Regions from separate parts of the Homo sapiens genome. Here region 2 is linked to region 1. Evidence: promoter capture Hi-C in human tissues and cell types (Jung and others, 2019). All regions are on one chromosome and are shown on one strand. The core of a region is centred on a gene start or on the middle of the fragment in contact, and the rest is flanking DNA. Distances in the headings are between cores, read along the strand shown.

The links. Contacts are between HindIII fragments. The study calls those that stand out against the background at their distance.
Region 2: a fragment that was not itself captured here is called in contact with the fragment with the promoter of TRPV4 in region 1 in 1 of the 25 tissues and cell types used here (stomach).

Annotation. Positions count from the first base shown.
Region 1 is chr12:109,832,148-109,839,207 of GRCh38, reverse strand. It overlaps TRPV4 (transient receptor potential cation channel subfamily V member 4), which reads left to right and starts at 5,810. Exons shown (of 16, transcript NM_021625.5): 1 at 5,810-5,858. It overlaps MIR4497 (microRNA 4497), which reads right to left and starts at 5,860; the gene lies at 5,772-5,860. The HindIII fragment of the contact is 21,611 bases long and covers 1-7,060 here.
Region 2 is chr12:109,482,230-109,489,048 of GRCh38, reverse strand. It overlaps UBE3B (ubiquitin protein ligase E3B), which reads right to left. Exons shown (of 28, transcript NM_130466.4): 3 at 5,337-5,518; 4 at 5,068-5,188; 5 at 2,978-3,037; 6 at 2,474-2,578; 7 at 381-477. The coding sequence starts at 5,497. Among named protein-coding and RNA genes, the nearest start is that of UBE3B, 8.0 kb to the right of the region's middle. The HindIII fragment of the contact is 7,663 bases long and covers 1-5,589 here.

The sequences.
Region 1 (7,060 bases), core at 4,561-7,060:
AGCGTTTCTCTTGCCTCAGCCTCCCAAAGTGCTGGGATGACAGGCATGAGCCACTGTACCTGGCTGTCTTCTTCTTTTTTTAAAAAGAAAATTTCACAGCAGCTTTATTAAGATAGTCATATACCATACAATTCATCCACTTAAAGTGTACTCTTCAATGGTTTTTATTTTATTTATTAATTTAATTTTTAAATTTTTTTGAGTCTCATTCTGTTGCCCAGGCTGGAGTGCAACAATGCGATCTTAGCTCGCTGCAACCTCTGCCTCCCAGGTTCAAGCGATTCTCCTGCCTCAGCCTCCGGAGTAGCTGGGATTACAGGCGCTCATTACCACGCCCGACTAATTTTTATATTTTTAGTAGAGATGGGGTTTCACCATGTTGGCCAGGCTGGTCTGGAACTCCTGACCTCGTGATCCTCCCACCTTGGCCTCCCAAAGTGCTGGGATTACAGGCATGAGCCACTGTGCCTGGCCTTCAGTGGTTTTTAGTATAGTCATACATATGAGCAACCATCACCAGTCAATTTTAGAATATTTGCATCATCCTATTTGGTTGGGTGTGGTGGTATGCGCCTGCAGTCCCAGCTACTCAGGAGGTTGAGGTGAGAGCATGGTTTGAACCCAGAAGTTAGAGGGTGCAGTGAGCTGTGGTTGCACTGCTGCCCTCCAGCCTGTGCGACAGAAAAAGAAAAAGAAAACCCATACCCTTTAGCTATTACCCTTGGCCCCCCAAATCCTCCCTTCCCCCCAGCCCCTGACGACCACTCAGCTCTTTTCTGTTTCTATAGATTTGCCTCTTCTGGCCATTTCATATAAATGGAATTATGTAATATGCGGCCTTTTGTGTCTGGCCACTCAGCATCCTGCTTCCAAGGTTCATCCATGTTGTTGCATGACTCAGTAACCATTCATTTTATTGCCAAATAGTATTCCTTTGTGTGGATATACTGTGTTTGTTTATCCATTGAGAATTTGAGTTGTTTTCTTTTTTTGGCTATTATGAATAATGCTGCTATGAACATTCAAGTTTTTCTATGGACGTAAGTTCTCATTTCTCTTGGCTATATTTCTGGGGTGGAATTGCTGGGTCATATGGGAACTCCAGATTTTTTTTTTTTTTTTGAGACAGGATCTCACTCTGTTGCCCAGGCTGGAGTGCAGTGGCACAATCTCAGCTCACTGCAGCCTCTGCCTCCTGGGCTTAAGCAATTCTTGTGCCTCAACCTCCTGAGTAGTTGGGATTGCAGGTGCCCACCATCATGCCCGGCTAATTTTTGTATTTTTTTTTTTAATTAGAGATGAGGTTTCACCGTGTTGGCCAGGCTGGTCTCAAACTCCTGGCCTCAAGTGATCCTTCCGCCTTGACCTCCCAAAGTGTTGGGATTACAGGCGGGAGCCACCGTGCCTGGCAGTAACTCTAGATTTAATATTTGGAGGAACTGCCAGACCGTTTTCCATAGCAGCCACTCCATTACACATTCCCACCAGCAGTGTGCGAAGATTCCAGCTTCTCCACTTCCTCATCCACACTTATGGTCTGTCTTTTTGAGATCATATTCTTTTTTTCTTTTTTTCCTAGACAGGGTCTCACTTTGTTGCTCAGGCTGGAGTGTAGCTGCCTGAACACAGCTCACTGCAGCCTTGACCTCCAGGGCTCAAGTGATTCTCCTGCCTTAGCCTCCCCAAATGCTATGATTACAGGTGTGTGCCGCCGCACCTGGCCAGGAAAATATTCCTGCTGGTCATGCTACACTGTAGAGTCTGCTGGGCTTGGGTTCAAATCTTACCAGTTGTGGGATGATCTCAGACAAGTGGCCTCTTTGTGTCATTATCTATAAAATGGTGGAAGAATTCCTCCTTTCCAGGCTGTCAAAAGATGAACTGAGTTAGTGGCAGGATCAGGACTGTGCCAACTGTAAAGTGAGGTGCACGTGTCTTGTTTTTATAACTGGGTACCCTGGGTATAAAGTCCCTGAGATCCTGACCTGTCTGGCTCACCAATCTCTCCCCAGCATCTGGCACTGGACCTGGCATACAGTAAGCACTTGGTAAATGCAGACCCTTGGCTGCTGCCCAGGAACCTTTCTTAGGGGAGGTAGCTGAGTCCACCTGGGGCAGTCCAGGAGCTACGTGGAGAGCAAGGCTGCGCCCCACATGTGGCTGCCACATGACTCACAGCCAATGCTGAGGGCCTTGAAAGTTTTTCCTTCCCTAAGAGGAAACATTATTTCTGGCTAGGCACAGTGGCTCATGCCTGTAATCCCAATGTTTTGAGAGGCCAGGTTATGAGGATCACTTGAGCACGGGAGTTTGAGACCAGCTTGGGCAGCATAGCGAGACCTCACCTGTACAAAAAATAAAATTTAAAAAGCCAGGCTTGGTGACACACACCTATAGTCCCAGCTATTCAGGAGGCTGAGGCAGGAGGATCGCTTGAACCTAGGAATTTGAGGCTGCAGTGAGCTATGAGCAGGCAACTGCACTACAGCCTGGGCTACAGAGCAATACCCTGTCTCTCTCTAAAAATAAAAAAAAAAAGATTAAAAATTAAACTTAAAAAGTATATTCATATTGTTGTGTGACCCTCGTTCATCTCCAGAACTCTTTGCATCTTGCAAAACTGAAACCCTACGCCCAACAAACAGCAACCTCCCATTCTCCTCTCCCCCAGCTCCATCAACCAGGACTTTTTTTTTTTTTGAGATGGAGTCGCTCTCTGTTGCCCAGGCTGGAGTGCAGTGGCACGATCTCTGCTCACTGCAACCTCCCTCTCCCAGGTTCAAGCAATTCTGTCTCAGCCTCCCAGGTAGCTGGGATTACAGGTGCCCACCACCATGCCCAACTAATTTTTGTATTTTTAGTGGAGACGGGGTTTCATCATGTTGGCCAGGCTGGTCTCGAACTCCTGACCTCAGTTGATCTGCCCACTTCAGCCTCCCAAAGTGCTGGGATTACAGGCATGAGCCACTTCGCCTGACCCATCAACCAGTATTTTTAAAGCACCTACTAAGTGCCAGGTGCTAGACCTGTGGTCATGAACACGTTCCCTTGCTTCATGGACACTGGTACCCATTTTTTAGGTGAGGAAACTGAGGCACAGAGAGAGAGGGAGGCTCTTGCCCACAGCTCCCACCACAGCTCCTTCTCCCATCAGCGGCAGGGCAGGATTTGAACCCCAGTGTCTGGTGCAGAGGCCAAGCTCCAGCTGCTTAGCCCAAGATGAGTCACTTCCCTACATGGGGGCCTCAGTTGCCCCATCTGTGAAATGGGGATCAGGAAAGAGCTGGGTTAGTGATGATGATGCTGAGCGCTCAGGCCCCTTCCCTCTGAGCTTAGAGAAGAGGAGGTCGCCATCCCTGGCCCCATCTCCCCCAGTTCCAGTCCCCAACATCAGCTGCCTTATGGCTGGAATCACCCTTGCCATTTTCTTTAAATTGAGACAGGCCTTTCTGCAGAAATGGGTCCCAGACTCACTCCTCCACTCTCAACCTGGCCCAGCCCCAGCCCCAGCCCTGAGGGCCCCCAGCAGATAGCTGTCTGTCAGGGAGGTGTGAGGGGCCCTGTGTTTACCTTCCTCTCCACTGCCAGACATCTGCCTGTTTACTCCGGACCCTCAGAGGGTTCTCTTTCCCACCCCAACCCCCACCATGGAGGGAGCAGCTTTTGGAGAGGCCATACTCCTCTCCAAGCCTCAGTTTCCCACTTGCAAAATGGGTAGAGCAAACCCTACCTCACAGCCTGTTCTCCCTCTCATCCCCTAGGCTTCTGTGCTCAGTGAGTTAATTATTAGGGTTTGTTTCTTTGTAAATGTTTCACGCTGGAGGTGAACACATCACTCCTATTCAGGGGTACACACACACACACACTCTCTCTCTCTCTCTTTCGCCTCCCCACCCAGCAATTCTAAAATTTCACTTTCCAGCTGTTGGACCTCAGGAGAGATGCTGCTATTTTCAAGCTGAGGAGGAAGGAGCTACCCCACAGTCCCTGAGTCAGCTCAATTTAGTGAAAACACTAATGATGAAAATGGCATGGCTCTGGGCCGGGCACGGCGGCTCACACCTGTAATCCCAGCACTTTGGGAGGCCAAAGTGGGTGGATCAACTGAGGTCAGGGGTTCAAGACCAGCCTGGCCAACATGGTGAAACCCTGTCTCTACTAAAAATACAAAAAATTAGCCTGGCGTGGTGGCGCATGCCTGTAATCCCAGCCCCCAGGAGGCTGAGGCAGGAGAATCGCTTGAACTCAGGAGGCAGAGGTTGCAGTGAGCTGAGATCACACCCCTGAACTCCAGCCTGGGCGACAGAGTAAGACTCTGTCTCAAAAAAAAAAAAAAAAGGGCTCTGCACAGCCTGGATGCTCCCAGCATCTTCACTGCGACTGTGAGGTGAGGACTTTTGTATGCCCCACTCTACAGGGGGATGTAGAGGCACTGAGGCACAAAGGTGAAGGGACTTGCATAGGGCTGCTGGGTTAGAGAGTCACAGAGCCAAGCTGTGGGCCTGCTAGGCTTTCCAACCACCCTGGAGGAAGTGAGCTGCCCATCCTGTGGAGGTATTCAAGTGGACTCAGTGCTGGGTAGAGGGTATGGCTATGTGTTGGGGCCCACCTTTGTTATCTGATAAAAGAAAATACATGGGTAGGTGTGGTGGCTCATGCCTATACTCTCAGTGCTTTGGGAGACTGAAGTGGGAGGATCACTTGAGGCCAGGAGTTGTAGACCGGCTGCCCTCCCCCACCCCCCCTTCTACAAAAAAATAAAAATTAGTGGGGTGTGGTGGCGCATGCCTGTACTCCCAGCTGCTCAGGAGGCTGAGGTGGGAGGATCTCTTGAGGCCAGGAGTTTGAGGCTGTAGTGAGCCGTGATCATGCCACTGCACTTCAACCTGGGTGACAAAGGGAGAACATGTATCAAAAATAATAATAATAATAAAAAAAATAAACAAAAACGCATTGAGCCAGGCACGGTGACTCAGACCTCTAATCCCAGCACTTTGGGAGGCCGAGGTGGGTAGATCGCTTGAGCCTGGAGTTTGAGACCAGCCTAGGCAACATAGTGAGACCCTATCTCTGCAAAAAATTTAAATAAAATTAGCCAAGCATGGTGGTAGGCGTCTGTGGTCTCAGTTACTAGGGAGGCTGATACGGGAGGATTGCTTGAACGCTGGTGGTTGAGGCTGCAGTGATTCCTGATCACGCCACCGCACTCCAGCCTGGGCAACAGAGTGAGACCCTGTCTCAAAAACAACAGCAACAAAACATTGATGGCCTACTCCGAGGCAGGCTTCGCAGTAAGCACTGGGTGAAGACCAAGGAGAGCAGCTCACATTTATTTACCCCTGAACCATCTCTATGGGCCATACCCGAGGGTAGGGACCTCCTTCAACGCCTCGGAGGAAATTGTCTGCTGAATGAATGAATGAGCAAACACGTGGAGGACTGGGCCGGGACGCCCATTTAGAGACTAGGACACAGTCCCAGGGCGGCCCGAAGTCACGGAGCAAGATCGAATCGGAGCCGATTCCAACTAGAGCCCTCTCCAAAGACCGTCTGCCGCTCTATCCGGGGATCGCGACACCCATTTTCCAGGCGAGGAAACTGAGGCCCTGGCCCTGCACCTCCCCCGCAGGGGAGGCCCTCGCTGGGCGGGCGGGGTGCGAGTAGGGGCCGCCCCTTCTAGGGCCTGCGCTCGGCGGGGTCCGCGAGCCGGCGGGTGGGCGGGGAGCTGGCCGGGGGCGGCGCGCGGCTGGAACCTGAGCCGGCGGAGGAGGGACCCGCGGGCGGACGGGCGCCGGGCGGGCCGGCCGGGATTCAGGAAGCGCGGATCTCCCGGCCGCCGGCGCCCAGCCGTCCCGGAGGTAAGTGGGGCCCGGGCCCGGGAGGGGCGGCTCAGCCGAGGTCCCCTCGCGCCCCTGGGGACATCTCCGTGGCCCGTCCGGCTCCGGGGGGTCCCGAGGCTCCAAAATGCGGGCCAGGGGCGCGGGAGACGGAAGGCACCAGGTTCCGCAGGCGCCAGCCTCTCAGCTAAGTGCCCTTGGGCCGGACACCGGCTCTTTGGGTCTCGGTTTTATCACCTGTGAAATGGGCACCAACGTGGGGCCTGGGGTAGCAGGTCTGGGGGGAGGGCGGTTCGGTTCCCTGAGACCCCAAGCCAGGGAACCAAAGGCCCGGAGCCTTGCAGCCCACCTTAGGAGACTTGGAAGAGGGATTTCGGGGGACCTAAGGTTTGCCCTTGGCCCCTGAGCATGTCGGAGGGAATTTGGAGTCTGGAGCTTCCAAAGGCTTCTTCTTGGTTACTGAGTCCCGGAGAGACGGCTGTTTCCTCCAAGAGGCATGAAAATCTTTAACCTCTAGTTCTGCCCTGGACTCTCAGGACGTCCCGGGGGCGGGTGGCTCCTGGGGGTGGGTAGCGGGGGTGGGGGTGGGGGAGAGAGAGACTCCCACACTCCCCGCTTGCCTGGAAACACCAACCACAGATGCATTCATCGAGCCACCCACTGCTCCAGCCTGCCCCAGCTGTTCCCTCTGTCTGTCCTCTCTGTTTTGCAGATGGGGAAACTGAGGCTTAGGTCGGGGATCTAGACAATTGGGATTTAAACCCAGGGACTATCCAGCCCCAAAGCCCTTCCCACCACACCAGGTGGCCTGTCCTGGGGCCAGCTCTGCACACAGGGCCTGGTGCCCCCGGGGTGCTTGGGAAGTGGCAGGGCAGAGGTGGGCCCTGTGGCTGTTCTGGCTCAGCTTCTAAAACAAGAGCCTCTGCTGGGGGCAGAGGGGCCGTGAACCCCTGAAATGTTAGGCAGATACCCTGTGGGAGCTTTGTTCTGGGATGCTAAGAACCGCTTGAGGATTTAAGCTTTGCCACTTTGGCTCCGGAGCAAGGGCAGAGGGTAAGTCGGGACTCCCCGGGCTCCTGAGGAGGGTGACGAGGTGGGCTTTTGGGGGAACAAGGGTAGAAAGGTCAGGCCTGGGTTATCTGCGGGGCTAAGAGCGGGCCTGTGTGGGGCCCGGGGTGTGCTCTGCAGTCCCCTGCTGTGTGACCTTGGCCTGGTCCCTTAGC
Region 2 (6,819 bases), core at 509-3,008, 350 kb after region 1:
AGGAAGAAGTTTATAATGCAAATTTTATGGGCAAAATAGAATTATTCACAACCTAATGATTTTCCAAGTAAAATGACAAGGCTTAAGTGAATGTAATCACTTGGAGGCTAAGGCACTGTGGGAACTATAAAAATTAAAATCAGAAGAACCATGACTTTAAATGTAAATTCAAAGAAGGGTTGAGTACAACACACAATGCTGAATGGATTGTGGATACTGCGATGCAGTCTGATGGTCAGCACCAAGGGCATCCTCATTTGTATGGTCTCAGGGCCTTCCCTGAGGCTTGTGGCAAAAATGCTTCTTACAAAGGAAAAAAGGTCCCTGAGCTCTCTATGGAAATGTTGGTTAGAGAACATTTTGAAGCAAGTCCCACAGACCTTTTCCCCGAAGAATTTTCCACGTTGAAGTGTCTGTGAAGGTGACAAGCATCGTGAGGTACAGGGTGATGAGTCGGGAGTCCTGCAGGATTTCAGGCTGGAAACAATAAACACAGCAAGATTAAGACACACGTCTTCTGATTCCAGACAGTGAAGTGTTCACTTTACAACTGCTCTATGGGCACTCAGCCTGGAATCACTGAGTCAGGATTATAAGTCAGTCTTAATTCTTTTTCTCTTGGGCAATGACCACTCCAGGAGTTAAATAACAGGGAATGTGGCACTCTAGTGCCTGATAATGGAATCATGGGATTCCATTATTCTTGGGAATGGAGAATTGAGAATCCCTAGAAAACAAGATGACCAGGGCTGGCTTGCTGTATGTACATGTGCCTGCCTGTCTGTCTGAACTCTGCAGCAACAGAGCAGAAATGCAATTGAGCATGACTAGGACTCTGGGCTCAGCCTTCTGACTTCACCACTTACTAGCTGTGTGAGCTTAGGCAAGTTTCTTAACCTTTCTGTGCCTCGGTTTCCTCATCTGTTGACCAGAAATAGTAACACTGCTTTCCTCATAGGGTTGTTGTGAGAAATAAATGGATTAATGCGTATGATGCACTAAGAACAGTGTCTGGCACATAGATAACTCCATGTAATGTTGGCTGCTGTTCTAATTTTGATGACAGTTCATTGTTTCACCAAGTGTAAGTCAAGCAAAAGGCCTGACTGCTTTCTAGGCCCACAGACCCTATAGCAGGTCCACCTGGAAGGGACCTTGGAGACAACCTTGGAGACCACTGAGTTCAAACCTCAAAGCTCATCGACAGTAAGAGAGGGGAAGCAGCTTGTTCAAGGCCACGTGGGAAATGAACAGCAGAATCAGGACTGAATTTCACATATTCCTGGCTCCAGAGTCAGGGCCCTTTTTCTCCTGACGTCTGTTTCTTTGCATAAACTTTTTTTGTTTGTCCAAAATAGAAGAGCTTCTCCTCAAAGAGCAATCTGTTGTGGAATGTACACATAGAGAGCAGATAAACAAGGATCTGCCTGGCTCGCGTGCAGGTAGGGAAATACCCTGCTCACTTGGCCCTAAGGCATTCTGGTGGACTCCCAGGGCTCCGAGGAACATAGTGTGGAAACCCTGCGCTGAGCCATGTCTCACCTGACAAGCCAGGCATGGCAAGAGCCATTCCTGAGCAGCCAAAGAGGGATGGCTGGGAATGGATTATTACTGGGGTTGGGGGCGGTCTGGGGACTTTCGTTCCATTACTGAGCTGCTATCTGTGTCCTTGCCAAGCCTCTGTCCCTGAGACCTCTCTATCCTTATAAGCAAAGTGGAAGTGGCTCCTGTGTATGTCTGCTCACACCCCTGTCCATCCTTTTCAGAACACTGAAGGGGGTAGGGGAACACAGGACCAGGCTGGGCTAGTGGCAGTACCCCATTCCTCTTGCCACTGTGACTGGTTCAGAGATGAACCCAGGATTCACTGGACCTACAAGAAACCTGGATTTTTGAACTGGTCGGGAGGCCTCTCCTCCCTTTAGTCAAGACAGAGTAAGAATATAAAGTCAAAACTGCTCGTTGCCATGATTACAGCAGGAAAGGACGAGGTGACCCCAAAAGGGAGCAGGGATGAGAGAAAAGAATGAGAGGGAGAATCAGAACCCCCTAGCTCTCCTTACTCTAGCTGCCACGTTACTGAATATATTCTAGAGCACAACGTTCTCTTCCTTGCTTAACTGGTACGTGATACTAGCTGTGCTCACGTTCGGCTTCTGTACTTTTAACAAGAGGCCTGACTAGTATAATAATGTAGATCATAAAGTACTGATTACATTAAATGAATGGGAAGGAAAGTGACAGATTCCCTGCCATGGAGGCTGTGGCGTGGCAAGCAGTTTAAGGGTCCAACACACACCAAAGGAGGGCTCATATTGATAACAGAATCAAAATTCCTCTCTTCCAGAACAGTGGCTCAACTAGCAACTCTCGTTGATAGTGACTCTGAAAATACAGACTAAAGTCTACAGGTGAAAATGACATACGTACTGTTTCTGGTTTTGCTTTTTTTTTTTTTTTTTTTTTTTGTTACCTTGAGCTGCTTGAGAAAATCACAGCAGTACCACAAAATGTTCTTGATCTGTTGAATCCAAAGGAGGGTGAGGTCCTTAGAACAAGCCAGGGACACATACCACACCTATAGGTGGGAAAAAGAGGAATGTCATGGGCTGTTATAGAGATCATATCACTTGTGCTCTAACTGTTGGAACTGGACCTATTAGTTAGGTCCAGTGCCAGATAAAGCAGTGGACCTGAATGGACAAATAAGCTGTAAACAGGACTTATTTTAACACTAAACGCAAAGACAAAATAGCCTAGTAAGAAAATTTACTATCCTGTGTTGTGGCAAGAGCAGAACGTAGCTACCTGGATCATGAAGAAACTAAGGAATCATTTGTACTTTGGTAATGTTTTCCATCCACTACTTATTTGCATTTGTGTGTGAATTGGTCCTAATATTCAACAGGAACTTTCAGAGCCCAGTAGGTTGGCCCTTAAGAGCTTGTGGGAGACACTGCGGCTCCCGTCCACTTACCTTAGGCTCATTCTCAGCATCCATGCTGCTCAGGATGCTGCGACACAACTTCTCAAATCTCTGCAAAGAGACACACTGGGGGTTATACATTCCCACAATCCATCAAAAAGTGAAAACAAAGAAAACAAGCCTTCAGCGGGTACCTGGCACGTGCAGGTATTATGCCAGGTGATTCACACATAATCACATGCAGTTCCTTCCTACAGATGAGGACACTGAAGATCATAAAGACTAAAGGGTTCTCCAACTGGTGGCCCAAGAGCTGGAGGAACCCTATAGAAATGTTTTAGAAACTGGTATACTTCACATAAAAACCCAAATTGAGGCTTCTTTCAAAAAACAGTATCAATCTGGCAAACTGGATTTGGATTCCTGCAGGCCTGCTGCTGTCTCCTCAACTGTGCTCTCCAGTTTACCTTTTCTTAAGCACCATGGATACTGACTTTTGCCTCACAGCCAGTAGCCAAAGGCTGCTGTATCATCACTTTTATCCTGTAATGCAAAAGGAAGAAAAGTGGAAACTAGAAAACAGGTTCCATTTTGGCTATACCAATCCTGGATCCGCCCTTAAACCATGTGATATTGGGCAAGCTGCCCTACCACCCTGAGCTGCAGTTTCCTTCTCTGTAAGATGAGGTTCACCTCCTCCAGCTTATCTGTCCTCATCTACGTAATCATGTGTTCACTGCCTGCATAGTCCTCCCTCTCTTGCTGGGCTATGAGCTCCATGAGCGTAGAGATCTTGCCCGTCCTGTTTCCTCCCAAGGGCCCAGTGCCTAGAGAGGGTTGGCACAATGTGAAGCTTAGCAATAGGAATGCCTAACAGCCTAACAGCTGGTAACTTGGAGACATGCCTCAGTGGCATTGTTAGTACTATTACAGATAACTAGCTGCTTTTCTGGGATTACACTTTTCAGGCTGATCATTCTAATCCCTAAGGTGCAAACTGGCACCTTTTGTATGATTTGCAGGATATTTAAAAAATTTCAAATTAATTGCCAAGATTTACAAATTAGAACATTGATGGTAGCTCACGCCTGTAATCCCAGCACTTTGGGATGCTGAGGCAGGTGGATCACTTGAGCCCAGGAGTTTGAGACAAGCCTGGGCAATAAGGTAAAACCCTATCTCTACAAAAAATACAAAAACTTGCTGTGCATGGTGGCACACACCTGCAGTCCCAGCTACTGAGGAGGCTGAGGCAGAAGAATCGTTTGAGACTTGGGAGGTCAAGACTATAGTGAGCTGTGATAGTGCTACTGCACTCCAGCCTGGGCGACAGTGAGACCCTGTCTCAGAATATGAAAGAATGAATGAACGAACATTGAGCATAAAAACTCAGATCTTTGGCATCTCTTTAAAAAAAAAAAAAAAAAATCAGAGGCTGGGTACAGTGGCTCACGCCTGTAATCCCAGCACTCTGGGAGGCTGAGGCGGGCAGATCACAAGGCTAAGAGATCGAGACTATCCTGGCCAACATGGTGAAACCCCATCTCTACTAAAAATACAAAAATTAGCTGGGCGTGGTGGCACGAGCCTATAGTTCCAGATACTAGGGAGGCTGAGGCCGGAGAACTGCTTGAACCCGGGAGGTGAAGACTGGCAGTGAGCCAAGACTGCGCCACTGCACACCAGCCTGGCGACAGAGAGAGACTTCATCTCAAAAAAAAATCAGAGTATGAGTCCACCACCGAGGTGTGTAGTAGCTGCTCCCCGTGGATGGGGCAGGCCACAGACCCTGCTACTCCTTTTGATGTCCTTACCACTGCTGCCTGTCAGTTACCGTTTAATATGATTTGTATTTTGTATTATGTTTTATCTCATATATGTTTTTTTTACTCATTTACCTAAACTTCCTGACTCTTGCATGCATCTGAGTTCAACTTGTGCTTATAATGGTCAATGTGAAAAGATTCCTAAAAGCACTGGGCATAATCCCTCCAAAACAGGTCCCAAGAAAACAAAAGGGACAGGATGTGAGGGTGACAGTAATTACCTCATAAAGCTGCTATAAGAACTGAGTTAATATCAATAATTATAAAAGATCTGACATATGGAAGTATTATACATGTTTGCTATTATCGTTTTACCTCATTATCCTCTTTGATTCTGAATAGGAACAGCAGTTTCCTGGCAATCTTGAAAATACAAAGTGCACTTCTTTTAGTGGACTCAGGGTCATCTGCTTTAAAAAAGTCATCAATCTCTCTCCTAGAAAAGAAAGTGCAAAAAAAGACATTTTAAATTAACAGCTTGTAGCACCTGGAAGGCTTTTCAAGCACTTTATGAGAAAAAACTCATTTATCTGCTATTAATTGGGAGCCAGAGAATCATGTGCTAGGGAGATCCTAGCCCTTACCTGATATCTCTCTGCAGTCGACTCCGACAGAGAAAACTCCGGACATGGGCCTGGATCACAACAGCTGCCCGCTCCCGTTCCTTCTGCACAAGCCTTTCTTCTCGTGCCTGACGGGCTCTATCGATGAACCATGCTCTCGAGGTCTGAGACAGGGTGAACATGTTTGCAAACTTGCACAAACCCTGCAAGGAAAATGGGCAAGTGGGTGTTGTAGATTGTTGTGTGAAAAACACACACAGAAAGGGGCTCAAGAGCAGAGGGTGGGCAGGGACCTGGGCAGCAGAGATACTCAGGACCTGTCAACACCCTCCAAAGCGCTAACAGCTCTCCGGCACAAGTCCCTACCTCCTATAGGCTCTTTCATGCAACTCACCAAGACCAGGGATGCTACATCCTATATTAAATAATCACATCTTCTTAAGGGAAAGAGCACAGCACCTGGCATAGGATAAGGGCAGGCCCAGCTTTACGAATGAACAAAGAATGAATCAGTCCCACCCATAAAGCTCTAATTCAAACCAGGTATCCTATAGGTCAAAGATTCCCAGATATTTGAATTTTCTGGAGTAGTCCACAGTATTTGGGAAACCAAAACTGAGAGGTCAGCTTTTATTTTGCCAAGTAAGGACTCGAGAGAAAAATCCAACATGATTATTTGCTGTCATCATCATTGTATTCATCCATTCACTAAACAAATATTTACCAGTGCATACTTTGTGACAGCACACAAAAAAGAAAGGGCCATTTCAACATTAACAAAGCAAAAGGTACACACTTCAGAATGCAAGACAGTCCATTATATTGAAGATATTTGGTTTTATGTATAGCTTATTCCATTGTCCTTACAATTACCATCCTGCCAAGGACCAGTGAAGACTTTACTGTAGAACTGGTCCTGTCCACTAACGGGTGCTTTTCTGAAGAGCAGCTCTAAATTATATACTAAGTTTTTATCTAAATCACCAGTAACTGTTTTTTCCTAAAGGAACAGCTTTTGCTAGCAGCCTAAAGCACACAGCACTGACCCCCGGAGGCTCCCATATTGAGATGATTTCTTTAGATGCTTGATGACATTGCCATTCTATACAAAATGCACAATCAGCCCAGTTAAAAACACTGAAATGAATTATTCAGAAATCCAGACTTCCAGAAAACAATCTCTCTACCAGGCTACTTTACTTGAAGTAGCACCCACATGAAAATATCATCCAGAGTAAAAAGTCGGATGGCTAGAACTAGGGGCCATCTATCCTAAGTGAAATAACTCTGAAACTGAAAGGCAAATACTGCATGACCTCACTTAGAAGTGGGAGCAAAACAATGGGCCCACATGGACAAACAGAGTGGAATAAGATAATGGAGACTCCAAAAGGTGGGAGATGGGACAGGGGTAAGGATTGAACAATTATTTATTGGTACAATGTTCACCATTCGGGTGATGGGTGCCCTAAAAGCCCAGACTCCACCATTACACAATATATGC